Regions from separate parts of the Homo sapiens genome. Here all the other regions are linked to region 3. Evidence: promoter capture Hi-C in 16 types of primary human blood cells and fetal thymus (Javierre and others, 2016). All regions are on one chromosome and are shown on one strand. Each heading gives the region's core, a stretch centred on a gene start or on the middle of the fragment in contact. The rest is flanking DNA. Distances are from core to core; before and after follow the strand shown. Region 1 holds the start of CITED4 (Cbp/p300 interacting transactivator with Glu/Asp rich carboxy-terminal domain 4). Region 2 has its middle 9.1 kb from the start of NFYC. Region 3 holds the start of CAP1 (cyclase associated actin cytoskeleton regulatory protein 1).

What was found. Contacts are between HindIII fragments. The CHiCAGO score rates a contact against its expected background, and 5 or more counts as called.
Region 1: a contact is called between the fragment with the promoter of CITED4 here and the fragment with the promoter of CAP1 in region 3, in 1 of 17 cell types (neutrophils). The highest score is 5.5, in neutrophils.
Region 2: a contact is called between a fragment that was not itself captured here and the fragment with the promoter of CAP1 in region 3, in 1 of 17 cell types (neutrophils). The highest score is 6.7, in neutrophils.

Annotation. Positions count from the first base shown.
Region 1 is chr1:40,860,877-40,864,445 of GRCh38, forward strand. It overlaps CITED4 (Cbp/p300 interacting transactivator with Glu/Asp rich carboxy-terminal domain 4), which reads right to left and starts at 1,487. Exons shown (of 1, transcript NM_133467.3): 1 at 178-1,487. The coding sequence starts at 1,251. The coding sequence ends at 697. It overlaps LOC124904157 (a long non-coding RNA gene), which reads left to right and starts at 1,508. Exons shown (of 3, transcript XR_007066025.1): 1 at 1,508-2,234; 2 at 3,292-3,519. RefSeq lists silencers at 1,274-1,353, 1,514-1,713 and an enhancer at 1,814-1,873. The HindIII fragment of the contact is 10,972 bases long and covers 1-3,569 here.
Region 2 is chr1:40,680,922-40,684,313 of GRCh38, forward strand. It overlaps a transcript of RIMS3 not described here. Among named protein-coding and RNA genes, the nearest start is that of NFYC, 9.1 kb to the right of the region's middle. The HindIII fragment of the contact is 3,074 bases long and covers 549-3,392 here.
Region 3 is chr1:40,038,473-40,042,159 of GRCh38, forward strand. CAP1 (cyclase associated actin cytoskeleton regulatory protein 1) reads left to right here and starts at 2,257. Exons shown (of 13, transcript NM_006367.4): 1 at 2,257-2,329. It overlaps LOC105378669 (a long non-coding RNA gene), which reads right to left and starts at 1,974. Exons shown (of 3, transcript XR_001738013.3): 1 at 419-1,974. RefSeq lists enhancers at 1,275-1,908, 1,877-1,946, 1,909-2,543, 2,197-2,396, 2,467-2,556. The HindIII fragment of the contact is 17,502 bases long and covers 1-3,687 here.

The sequences.
Region 1 (3,569 bases), core at 237-2,736, 820 kb after region 3:
GTGACATAACAATTGCACAACCCACGAGATATTTTTGAAAGAAACTGTCGGTTTCCTCTCCTGGGCACTGCTGGGGACTGTGGCCCCCATGCCATCCAGTGTCTTCAGCAACCTTGGGACTTTGGAAGCTAAATATAGTCAGGGCTCGGGGTGATAAGGAAATGAAAACGGCAAGACTGTAAAGTGACCCAGTTTTATTTTGGTTTTGGAGGCCAGACAGGGCATTGCTCCACGGGTTCGGGCTGTACAACCTTCCCCTCCTTGAGGTGGGAGGCCCAGCAACCACAGGGCCCAGGCAGCGGGGTGGGAGGCTCAGGAGATGGTGGCTCTGGGGACCCGATCCCGAGGAGAGAGGGGGCAGCAGGCAGAGGCCTGCAATGGCTCAGATTGGGGGAAGAGGGCGGCGAGGGGGAGAGGACACGATCCAAGAACCAGAGTCCGAAAGCTGAAGCTGGTCCGGTCTCTTTCACTTTACGGCCGAGGCTGGGGTCAGAGAAGTGAAGCCAAACTGTCCTCCCGCAGGAGGCAAGGCCTGGAGGGACGCCAGGGTCCCAGTCCGGTGCCGGGCCCTGCGCACACAGCCGCCGCCTCCACCCTCGCGGAGGGCGCGCGCGGGGCCCAGTCGCTGGGTGCAGGGTCCGGCGGGCAGTCGGGCCCTTTCTCCTCTCCGGCACGCCGGGCGGGCGCCGGCCGCCCTCAGCAGCTCACGGAGCCGGCGGGCGGCGCGGACCCCAAGTCCGAGAAGCAGTCGAACTCGCTCTGGCCCAGGAAGAGCTCGGGCAGCTCGCGCACGCGGTGCAGCCCGAGCTCCAGCTCCAGCGACGTCAGCGCCTCCTCGTCGATGAGTTCGGCGTCCATGCCGCCCAGGGCGTGCGCGGGCGGCGGCGGGGCTGCGGCGCTTGGCGCCGGCTGCGGGCCCGGGGGGCCTCCCGGAGCGTTGGGGGGCGCGGCCGCGCGGCCGGGGTACGGCGTCGCCACAGGCTGCAGGTGCGCGATGCCCGCGGCCGGCGGAGGCACGGCCGGAAAGGGCTGGAAGGAGGACGGCGGCCCGAAGGCCCCGTACGCCAGGGCCCCGGGTTGGCGGGGCGGCGGCGGCCCCAGCGGAGCCCCCCGCGGCCTCAGCCCACTGTCCAGGCCCGGGCCCGCGTACGGCGGCAGAGTCCGGAGCGCATGAGGGCCATGGGCGGCCGCGGCGGACGGCGGCCTCTGCACCAGGCGGTAGCCCTCGGCGAGCATCAGGTGGTCGGCCATGGCGGCAGGCCGGCTGCCTGCGGGGACAGCGCGCGGTGGTCAGCGCCGGCTCCCCCGGCCCGGGCCAGCGGCTGCTCTGCGGCGGGAGACCCGGGCACCGTGCGGTCCCTGCAGCTCGGCCGGGCGGAGCAAAACCAAACCCGACTGGTGCCCCGGCCCAGCCCACTACTGCGCACCTTGCGGCCGCAGCCTGGGGTCACAAAGGCCCGCAACCTGTAGTGCTCCGAAACCTCCGCGTCGCGTAGCTGGGCTCGGCGTATTCTTATACCCAGAGGCGGGGCTTCCCCGCCCTCGGACGCTCATTGGCTGGGCGAGACGCTTCTGGGCGGGCCGCGCACGCCTGCATCTAGGTCTTGGCCCCGCCCCTCCCACTGGAACCCCGCCCCTTGGGACTCCGGCCACGCCCCAGGCTCTGAGCACCGCCCTGGGGCGGGGTATTTGGCACTTTCGGAGGGATTCGGTCTGGCCCTCAGGGCTTCGGAATCGGACTTGGCTGGGGTAGAGCTTGAACTGACCAGAAGGTGGGGTGGGAGGGCCAGAGTTTTAGGCCCCCCAAGAGCTGCAGGATGTCAGGCCTACGCAACCTTTTAACTTTCCAGGTAGAGACCGAGGCTCAGTGGCGGAAGAGGCTTCCTGGAAATACACAGCAAAGCCTTGATCAAAGTGAGACTGCACAGCTACACAGGGCGCATGCACCTTAGCGGTGCAGGGTCCCCGCAGGAGGTCAGCTGTCCATTCCCATAACCCCCAGGAGAGCCTGTTGCTCCCCCTCTAGTTCCCACTGCACCTTGTCTGTTGAAGCATGTACTTAGTTGTTATTAATTTATGGGCACGTCTCCTGAAGGACTTGTTCATCTTCTTCTTCTCAGCACTTGGCCCAGAGCCTGGCCCAGAGCAGGCTTTTAGTAAAAGCTGAGTGAATGAACTAATGATGGAATGAATTGCAACTCTCAGCTGAGCCTCAGTTTCTTCATCTGTAAAAGGTAAAGAACAGCAGCACTGACCCTTTGTGAGGGGTAAGTGAGGGCATGTGTGCACAGTGCCTAGCACAGTGCCTGGTATGTGGTAGATGCTCAAAAGTGTCCCTTAGATGAAAGAAAGGCTATTTAAGTTCTTTTTTTTTTTTTTTTTGAGACGGAGTCTCGCTCTTTCGCCCAGGCTGGACTGCAGTGGCGCTGTCTTGGCTCACTGCAAGCTCCGCCTCCCGGGTTCACGCCATTCTCCTGCCTCAGTCTCCCGAGTAGCTGGGACTACAGGCGCCCGCTACCACGCCCGGCTAATTTTTTTTGTATTTTTAGTAGAGACGGGGTTTCACCGTGTTAGCCAGGATGGTCTCGATCTGCTGACCTCGTGATCCGCCCGCCTCGGCCTCCCAAAGTGCTGGAATTACAGGCGTGAGCCACCGCGCCCGGCCAAGGCTATTTAAGTTCTGTCCCAAAGGGCCTTCTCTTGATAACAGCAATAATAACTTGGACTTTTAAAGTGCTTTACATTCTACAAGTATTTTGTTGGGGGCAGGGCATGGATTATCAGCCCCATTTCAGTGATAAGGAGAAGCACACAAAGAGAAAGTGGCTGTCCTGAGGTCACAGGCAGCCAGAGTTAGCGTGTGAATGCCATGTGTTTTCCAAGTCCTTAGGGCAACTGGAGTCTTTCCTGTGGCCAGGAGACAGCCTCCCAGAACCTTACCCTCCACGCATTTGACACTCTCTCTCCCTTCTCTGACCTTCCCCCGACCTGTGGCATCCTTGGGACTTCCTGGAACTTGGGTTTATCCAGTTGATGTAGAGGGGAGAGCCCTAGAGTGAGAATTCAGGGGCCCAAGGTCTTTTCTTCCCTCTTTCTTCTTATTTTTTTAAATAGAGAAGGGAGCGGGGGGGAGGGGCGGCGTGGGGGAGTGAGGAGGGCCTCAGGCTTATCTCGAATCCCTGGCCTCAAGTGACCCTCTCACCTCAGGCTTCCAAAGTGCTAGGATTACAGGCATGAGCCACTGCGCCCAGCCAGAGGCCCAAGTTCTAATCATATCTCTGCCACCCACAGGTGTGTGACCTCCACCACCAACCAGCTGTGACTGTTGAGTGTTGAGCGGGGAGTATTACTTGATTCCCCAGGGCCTCAGCTTTCTGCTCTGTGAAAGGGAGACGGTGATCTTGCCTGGTCAGCCTGAGAGCTTGTGGGTAGTGATAAATGACCATGGGTGTGGTCACATTTTTGCAAAGTGTAAAAAGCTACACCCTGGAATTTATTCTCCTGAATCTTTCTCTACAGGTAAGGCTTCTCACAGAAATTCTTAAACCTGGCCATGCCTCACACTTATC
Region 2 (3,392 bases), core at 836-3,335, 640 kb after region 3:
TAACTTTTCTGCTTCTTTACCCATATTCTGTCTTCCTTTACTCTGAGGGAAAGCCACAGTGTGCCAGCTCCTATCAGAGGCCAACCTCTCCCCTGACCTGTGCTCAGGGTCCCAAGAACTTAACCTCTGCAGATACTCTCTTGTTTGCATTGTCTATTTCCTTCTGTCTACTGGAATATTTCATTTACTCACTTGCTCTAGAGTCTGTATCTTAAAACCAAAAACAAACCAACAAATAAAAACTTCCTCCTTTGGCCCTATTTCAACTCCTGCTTCCTTGAGTCAAACCAGAGTAGATATGGCTGAATGGGACAGGAAGCTGAACAGGGGTGTAGAGGTGAGCTCAGTAGAAGGGATGAGAAGCTTGGCAAGAAGGCAAGTAGTGAGTGTGGAAGGAAGAAGAGAAGGCATCGAAACTGATGTGATTGAATAGAAATCAGAAGTGGATTTTGACCCCAGAACTGCTTTCCTTAAGCCCCTCTCTTGAGCCTCCTTCTGCTCCCTGGCTCCCAAACCTCTGTTGGAGCCTGGACTCTGGAGTTGCGTTAAGCTTAGGTTCAATACCAGTCCTACCATTTCTGAGCTGGGCGACTTTGGAGAAATTACACGTCTTCTTTAAATTTTCTCATCTGAAAAAAAAATTATCACCTGTAAAATTAATCTAATAAAACCTGTCTCATTGAGTTGGTTTAAGGATTAAATGAGATCAACACATTTTAGCTCTTATTATTATCAAGGCCTTCCCCAGGCCATATACAAAACCTTACTCCCTATTTAATAATAATTATCATAGAGATCACTTGTTGAAGAATTCCTCTGTGCCAGGCAAGGACCTGACAAACAGAGTTTCCAGGTCAAAAAAGATTCCCTGGTAGCTTCTCAATACAGGGTTTTCTCCCTCTAATAACTTTTTATTTTATTATTTATTTGAGACTGAGTTTTGCTCTTGTCACTCCGACTGGAGTGCAGTGGTGCCATCTTGGCTCACTGCACCCTCCACCTTCCAGGTTCAAGTGATTTTCCTGCCTCCGCCTCCCAAGTAGCTGGAATTACAGGTGCCCACCACCCCACCCAGCTAATTTTTGTATTTTTAGTTGAGATGGAGTTTCACCATGTTGGCCATGCTGGCCTTGAACTCCTGACCTCAGGTGATCTGCCTGCCTTGGCCTCCTGAAGTACTGGGATTACAGGCATGAGCCACCATGCCTGGCCTCCCTCTAATAACTTAATGAACATTATATTATGGAATGTCTACCATGCACTAGAGAGTGGACTGGCTTACTTTCATTCATTCATTCATTCATTCAATGTTGTTGTTTAGGTACCTATTGTTAATTAAGTACCTATTATGGTACCAGGCACTTACCAGGGGCTGATAGTACCATCATACACTTAGCCCTGAACCTTAAAGGACTTACAGTCTAGCCACAGTGTAAGTGCTATGTAAAGAGGGTATGTATTTGAGGTGTTCTTTCCTTGTGGCTTCCTTGGACTAGGCAACCCCACCTTTGGCTTCACACCCCGTGACTGACCATGGTTCTGATTTTTTTTTTGGCTTGGAACCCCATCTTCAGGACACACTTTTGAGTTCTCGCTCCCCATGTGACCAAGAGGATTAAGAGACGAGGTAACTTTTGCATTCCCATTCTCTCCCTGCCTGGAGTCCCCCTCCAGAGGAAAGGAATTTAGCAGATGTACAAAAGGTAGATGGATAGCTGGTTTGGATTTTAAACAATCACACTTTTAATACTTCTCTGTCTTAATTCACTCATAGTCCCTTAATTGCCAAATCCAGCTGATTCTTTGACCCTTTGCAGATCTTTTTTTTTTTTTTTTTGAGATGGAATCTTGCTCTGTCAACCAGGCTGGAGTGCAGTGGTGTGATCTCGGCTCACTGCAACCTCTGCCTCCCGGGTTCAAGCGATTCTCCTGCCTCAGCCTCCCGAGTAGCTGGGCCTACAAGCACCTACCATCACACCCAGCTAATTTTTGTATTTTTAGTAGAGATAGGGTTTCACCATGTTGGCCAGGCTGGTCTTGAACTCCTGACCTCATGATCTGCCTGCCTTGGCCTCCCAAAGGCATGAGTCACTGTGCCTGGCTGAACTTTTGCAGATCTTTTGTCTCTTTCTCTCTTTGTGGTATTACATACAACTTTCTTTGCATCTTTCACCTCTCTAGCTCAGAGAGGTTAAGTAAATGGAATGGGGACTCGAACTCAGGCTAACTTCAAAGCACATGCTGCAGACAATATTCCATGCTGCTTCCCAAAGTAGACCAATAGTCTAGACCTATGCTGTCTAATATGCAGTCATTCGCTACATGCTATGGTTTGAATGTCCCTCCAAAACTCAAGTTGAAATTTAATTGCTATTTTAACAACGTTGAGAAGTGGAACACTTAAGAGGTGATGAGGTCACGAGGGCTCTGCCCTCATAAATGGATTAATGCATGGGAATGGGTTAGTTATGGAGGGAGTGGACTCCAGATAAAAGGATACGTTTGGCCCCCCTCCCTCTCTCACATGCACACTTCCTCACCATGTGATATCTTCTGCCACGTTATGGTGTGGCAAGAAGGCCCTCACCAGATGTCGAGCAAATGCTGGTGCCATGCTCTTGGGCTTTCCAGCCTCCAGAACCACAACCCAAATACATTTCCTTTGTTTATAAATTACCCAGTCTTTGGTATTTTGTTATAGCAGCAGAAAACTAAGATACTACCTGTAGCTATTTCAATGTAAACAAAATGAAAAATTCAATTTCTTGGTTGCACTAACCATCTTTCAAATGCTCAACAGCTACACGTGGCTAGTGGCTACTGTATTGAACAGCACAGATATAAAGCATTTCTACCACTGCAGAAAGCTCTGTTGGATAGTGTTGGTTAGATAAAGGTTCTGTCCTCTGACCTCTTTACCCTCTTTTCCTTTATTTATTCTCAGGAAGTGGACAGACATTGTTTAGTCTGCCTAATCCTTTACTCCTACTTTTCTGAGAAGTGTTACTCTATCCTCTACCCTCCAGCATACCTTCATTCATAGAGTTACAGTAGATACAACCATGTTTATGCATGACCCTGTCCCCCTTTCCATAATGATACTTGATTCAGTGGTGGACATTTGGCCAAAGCTAGCTCTAACAAGAGCTCTTCCTCCCAGAAATTTGAAATTGAGCCTAAGAATCTAGTCACCTGGATGATTTTTTGAATGGAGGCAACTTGGGACTAATTGGTTACCATGTTTTATATGACATGGATTGGGAAAACTGGTCTTCAGAATGATAAAGCAATGACAAAATGGTTACACATATTGGGGAAAGTTGGATCTAGGTGTTCAAAGGATGTCAGGACTCTGTCTCCCTCTCTGTCTGAATTCTGCCTTCCTCTGTGAT
Region 3 (3,687 bases), core at 1,007-3,506:
GGGTTCAAGCGATTCTCCTGCCTCAGCCTCCCAAATAGCTGGGACTACAGGCGCATGCCACCACGCCCAGCTAATTTTTGTATTTTTTAGTAGAGACGGGGTTTCACCATATTGGCCAGGCTGGTCTTGATCTCTTGACCTCGTTATCTGCCCGCCTCGGCCTCCCAAAATGCTGGGATTACAGGTGTGAGCCACCGCGCCCAGCCCTTCATGTGACGGATATTCTTAAACTATCTTCCCATCTCCTACTGGAGTTACAAATGCATGGATCTAGACTTCTTAAAAGACTGGACATTCCTTAGGGCAGGGGTTGTAACTTAAGTCGTGTGTGCATTCTTTATAATGAAGCATTTTACAAAGTGGTTTCACATACATTACTGCTTCCGTTTCTCATTACAGCCCCATTAATATTCCCCACCTGATGAGGAAACTTTCTTCATTCTCCTTCCTGCTTCCTCTTCTCTCTCCTCTTCCTCTAGAATGCGTGTATGGTCTATGTTCCTTCTGTCTCTAATCCAGAAAGAGATTTAGAATAACTAAATGCAGAGTCAAAGATTATGTCCAAATAAAGTTAGAGTTTGTGTGTGTGTGAGACAGTGTTTTTAGTTAAATGTCAATATTTAAAATATACTATGACTTTTATACCATATTTTTTCATGTTGTCATGTTCTTTTAAACATGCTGGGAGCCATAAAGTTAGGAAGAGGCCCAGTAACCCGTCCAAAGTAACCTGACCAAAGTCTGACCCCTAGTAGAGGGCCTATGCCAGCACTGGAACCCAGTGTCTCCAGATCCAGAGGCATTCACCACCTCAAATCTGCCTCAAATGTCTGCAGTATGGTCTATCACAGGGGCTAATTAAGCTCATGGGATTTAGAGTCAGACAGATGTGTTTCCTTCAAAGTTTCAACAGTTACTTTCTGACCTTGGCAAGTTATTCAGCTTCCTCATTTGAAAACTAGAGGGCATAATGGTACCTACCACCGAGAGTTGCTATTAGGAGTAAATGAAAATACGCTTGAAGAACTCAGCATGGGCCTGGCAAGTAGTCAGCGTGCAGTAAATGGTAGCTGTTATTTTAAGAACTTTATTTGTTGAATGATTGACTCTGGCACATAACGCCTGCATTCAACTTGAAACACGGAGCTGTCACAGTCGTTCAGCTGAAGGGGCGGGAACTGTGGCACTTGCCAATTTTTTCTAGAAATAAATCTTTGTGGGAGGATAATGACCGGTTGGAGAGTGTGAGTCTTGAGGGAACAAAGATCGGATCTCCCGGCCCAAGGAGTACGGAAGCGAAGCCTCCCCTGCGCGCGGCAGCCACCGTGCGTAACCTCCCCTGAACCGAGTAGCAGCCGCCTGAGCCCACCCAGCCCTGGGCGAGGCTGCCTCAGAAGCCGGATTTCAGCAGAGTGGGTGCAGGATCTGCTTTAATTCTGCTCATCTTATTCTCGGGGACCACACCCTGCGCGCCGGGAGGAAGGGCTCCAAAACCACAGGGCGGAGGCTTCCGCGCGGCCCCAGACTTGACCATCTATGGTCACAGAACACACCGACCAAACAGGAAGTGGGGTGAGAGCGGAGGGTTCCCTACCTTCCCAGCCCCGCGACTGCCAGCCGGGCTGGGGCTGACCCACCGCGCCCTCACTGACCCCCACGCCCTGCGCCCAGTCTCCGCAAGTCCTCCCACAACAATGTCCAGACTAATTGCCTTCCCACGTCACAAACGGGGAAACCGAGGTATGCACGCCCAGAGACAGGCGGAGCGTGGCCTCGATCACCACCGAGAGCTGACGGCCGCCCGGATTCCCGCCCTCAGAGAATCCTGGCCCCCAGTCGTTCCAAGACCCTTTACGGACTGCAGCTTAAAGGAACCGGCCTCTGCCATTGAGACCAAACTGACAGAGGAACTGGTCACTCTTCTGTTCTTTCCAGAGAGGAGCTTAGCCAGGGACTTCTGCCCTTCCTGGGCCCGGGCCTCGGGGGCGATTCCGGGTAGGTAAAGCGGAACGAGGGCGTGGCCTCTCTTGTGAGCCCGCCCTCCCCGTGTCGCTCCCGCCTTGAGGGCGGGGCTCTTTCCCAAGTGCCCTCTGTGAGAGCCGGGCCGCTCTCTCCGGGGCGTGGCGAAGAGGGGCGGAGTCACGAGCGGGGCGGTGAGACTTCCTGCCCAGTCGCGGGCCAGCCTAGCGCTTCAGCCGGCGGCTCATTTCCGGTGGGGGCGCCGCGCCCAGTGAGGGCCCGGAAGTGGGTCGCGCGGAGATTGCTGGGCGGTTCTTGCCGGAAGCGGAGAGCGGCTGATCGCAGTCCGGAGGTGAGGCGGAACTCTGAGGTGAGGGTGTGCAGCTTGGTAGGGATTGGGGTCCCTTCCGGGGCCCATCGGCCCCTGGTGGTGTTAATGGCCCTTCTGGCCTACGCGCGTGTCATGAACCCTGCCGAGAGGGCCGGGGCTGAGGCCCTCAGGCCGACCCGGACTCTTGGGCGCGGTCTCTTGAGGTGGGGCCGGGGTGAGCAGCTGAGTCCGGGTGCCCCGGGGAGGCCCCTCTGCCCGATTTCGCAGCGCTGCCCATCAGCTTCAGCGGAGGCCTGATTCCTGAGGTGCTCTGACTGGAAGGAACCTCCGAGATCGGAGAGTCTTCCCTGTCTCCTGTTGATGCTCCCATTGCACTGATAGGTAAATTGATCCCTAGAGAAGAGGCTAGTCTGAGATATATAGCGAGTGAGGAAAAGAATCGGAATCATGATCCTGGTGCCTTAGATAACCAGCCCCAGTTCTTCCCGTGTTGCTCGGAACCTCTCTAACTTGGGATGGTCTTCCGGTCGGTGTTGCCCCGCAGGCTGCTGCAGGTTAAAGGCCAGCGCTGCGTGGAACTTTTTTTTTTCTCTCCTCCCAAATTGAGCCGTTTGAAATGCCTAGGGAGTTTTTAAAAGAAAGGCGGGCACATCCTTGTATTTACAGGCAGATATCCTCCCTTTCCTCCTCGGCTGCTGCTCTTACTTTGACAAGCCAGGCTAACATTGAAGGTATGTACTTCTGGACCTGAAATCAGACGGCTCAGGTTTGGTCTGGCCTCAGTGCTGAGTGTCTGTGGCCATAGGTGCCTTAAACTTCTTTCAGCCTCCTTTTGTTCATCTTTTAAGTGGAGATCTCTGCTGACCCCACAAGATTAAATTCAGCGTAACAAATTGTGTTTATTCTGTGCCAGCATTTTCCCAGATGCGGGGAATGCAGCTTTAAAACAAAACAATGTAGACCCTGCCCGCGTGGAGCTAGCAGTGTTTGCAGGGATGTTTAAGAAGTAATTATAAATGTTGATGAGTGTTAGGAAAGAACAGGGTGCTCTGAAAGTATGTAACAGGGGGTTCAGGAAAAGCCCTTCTGAAGAAGCAGAGTTTTTAAGATGAATTTTGAAGGATAAATAGGAATGCGTTCGAAGAGTGGAATGAGAACATTTGAGACAGGTTAGCATCAGAACTGTGTCAGTTGAAGCTCTTTGTGGGGCTCTCTCTTCAAGAGAAAATCCGGGGGCATATCAGCACATTTATCATTTACCAGACTTTTATTTAATTTATTTATTTGTATTTTTAGTAGAGATGGGGTTTCGCCGTGAAGGCCAGGCTGCTCTCGAACTCCTAACCTCAGGTGATCCCCCCACCTCGGCCTCCCAAAGTGCTGGGATTACGGGCATG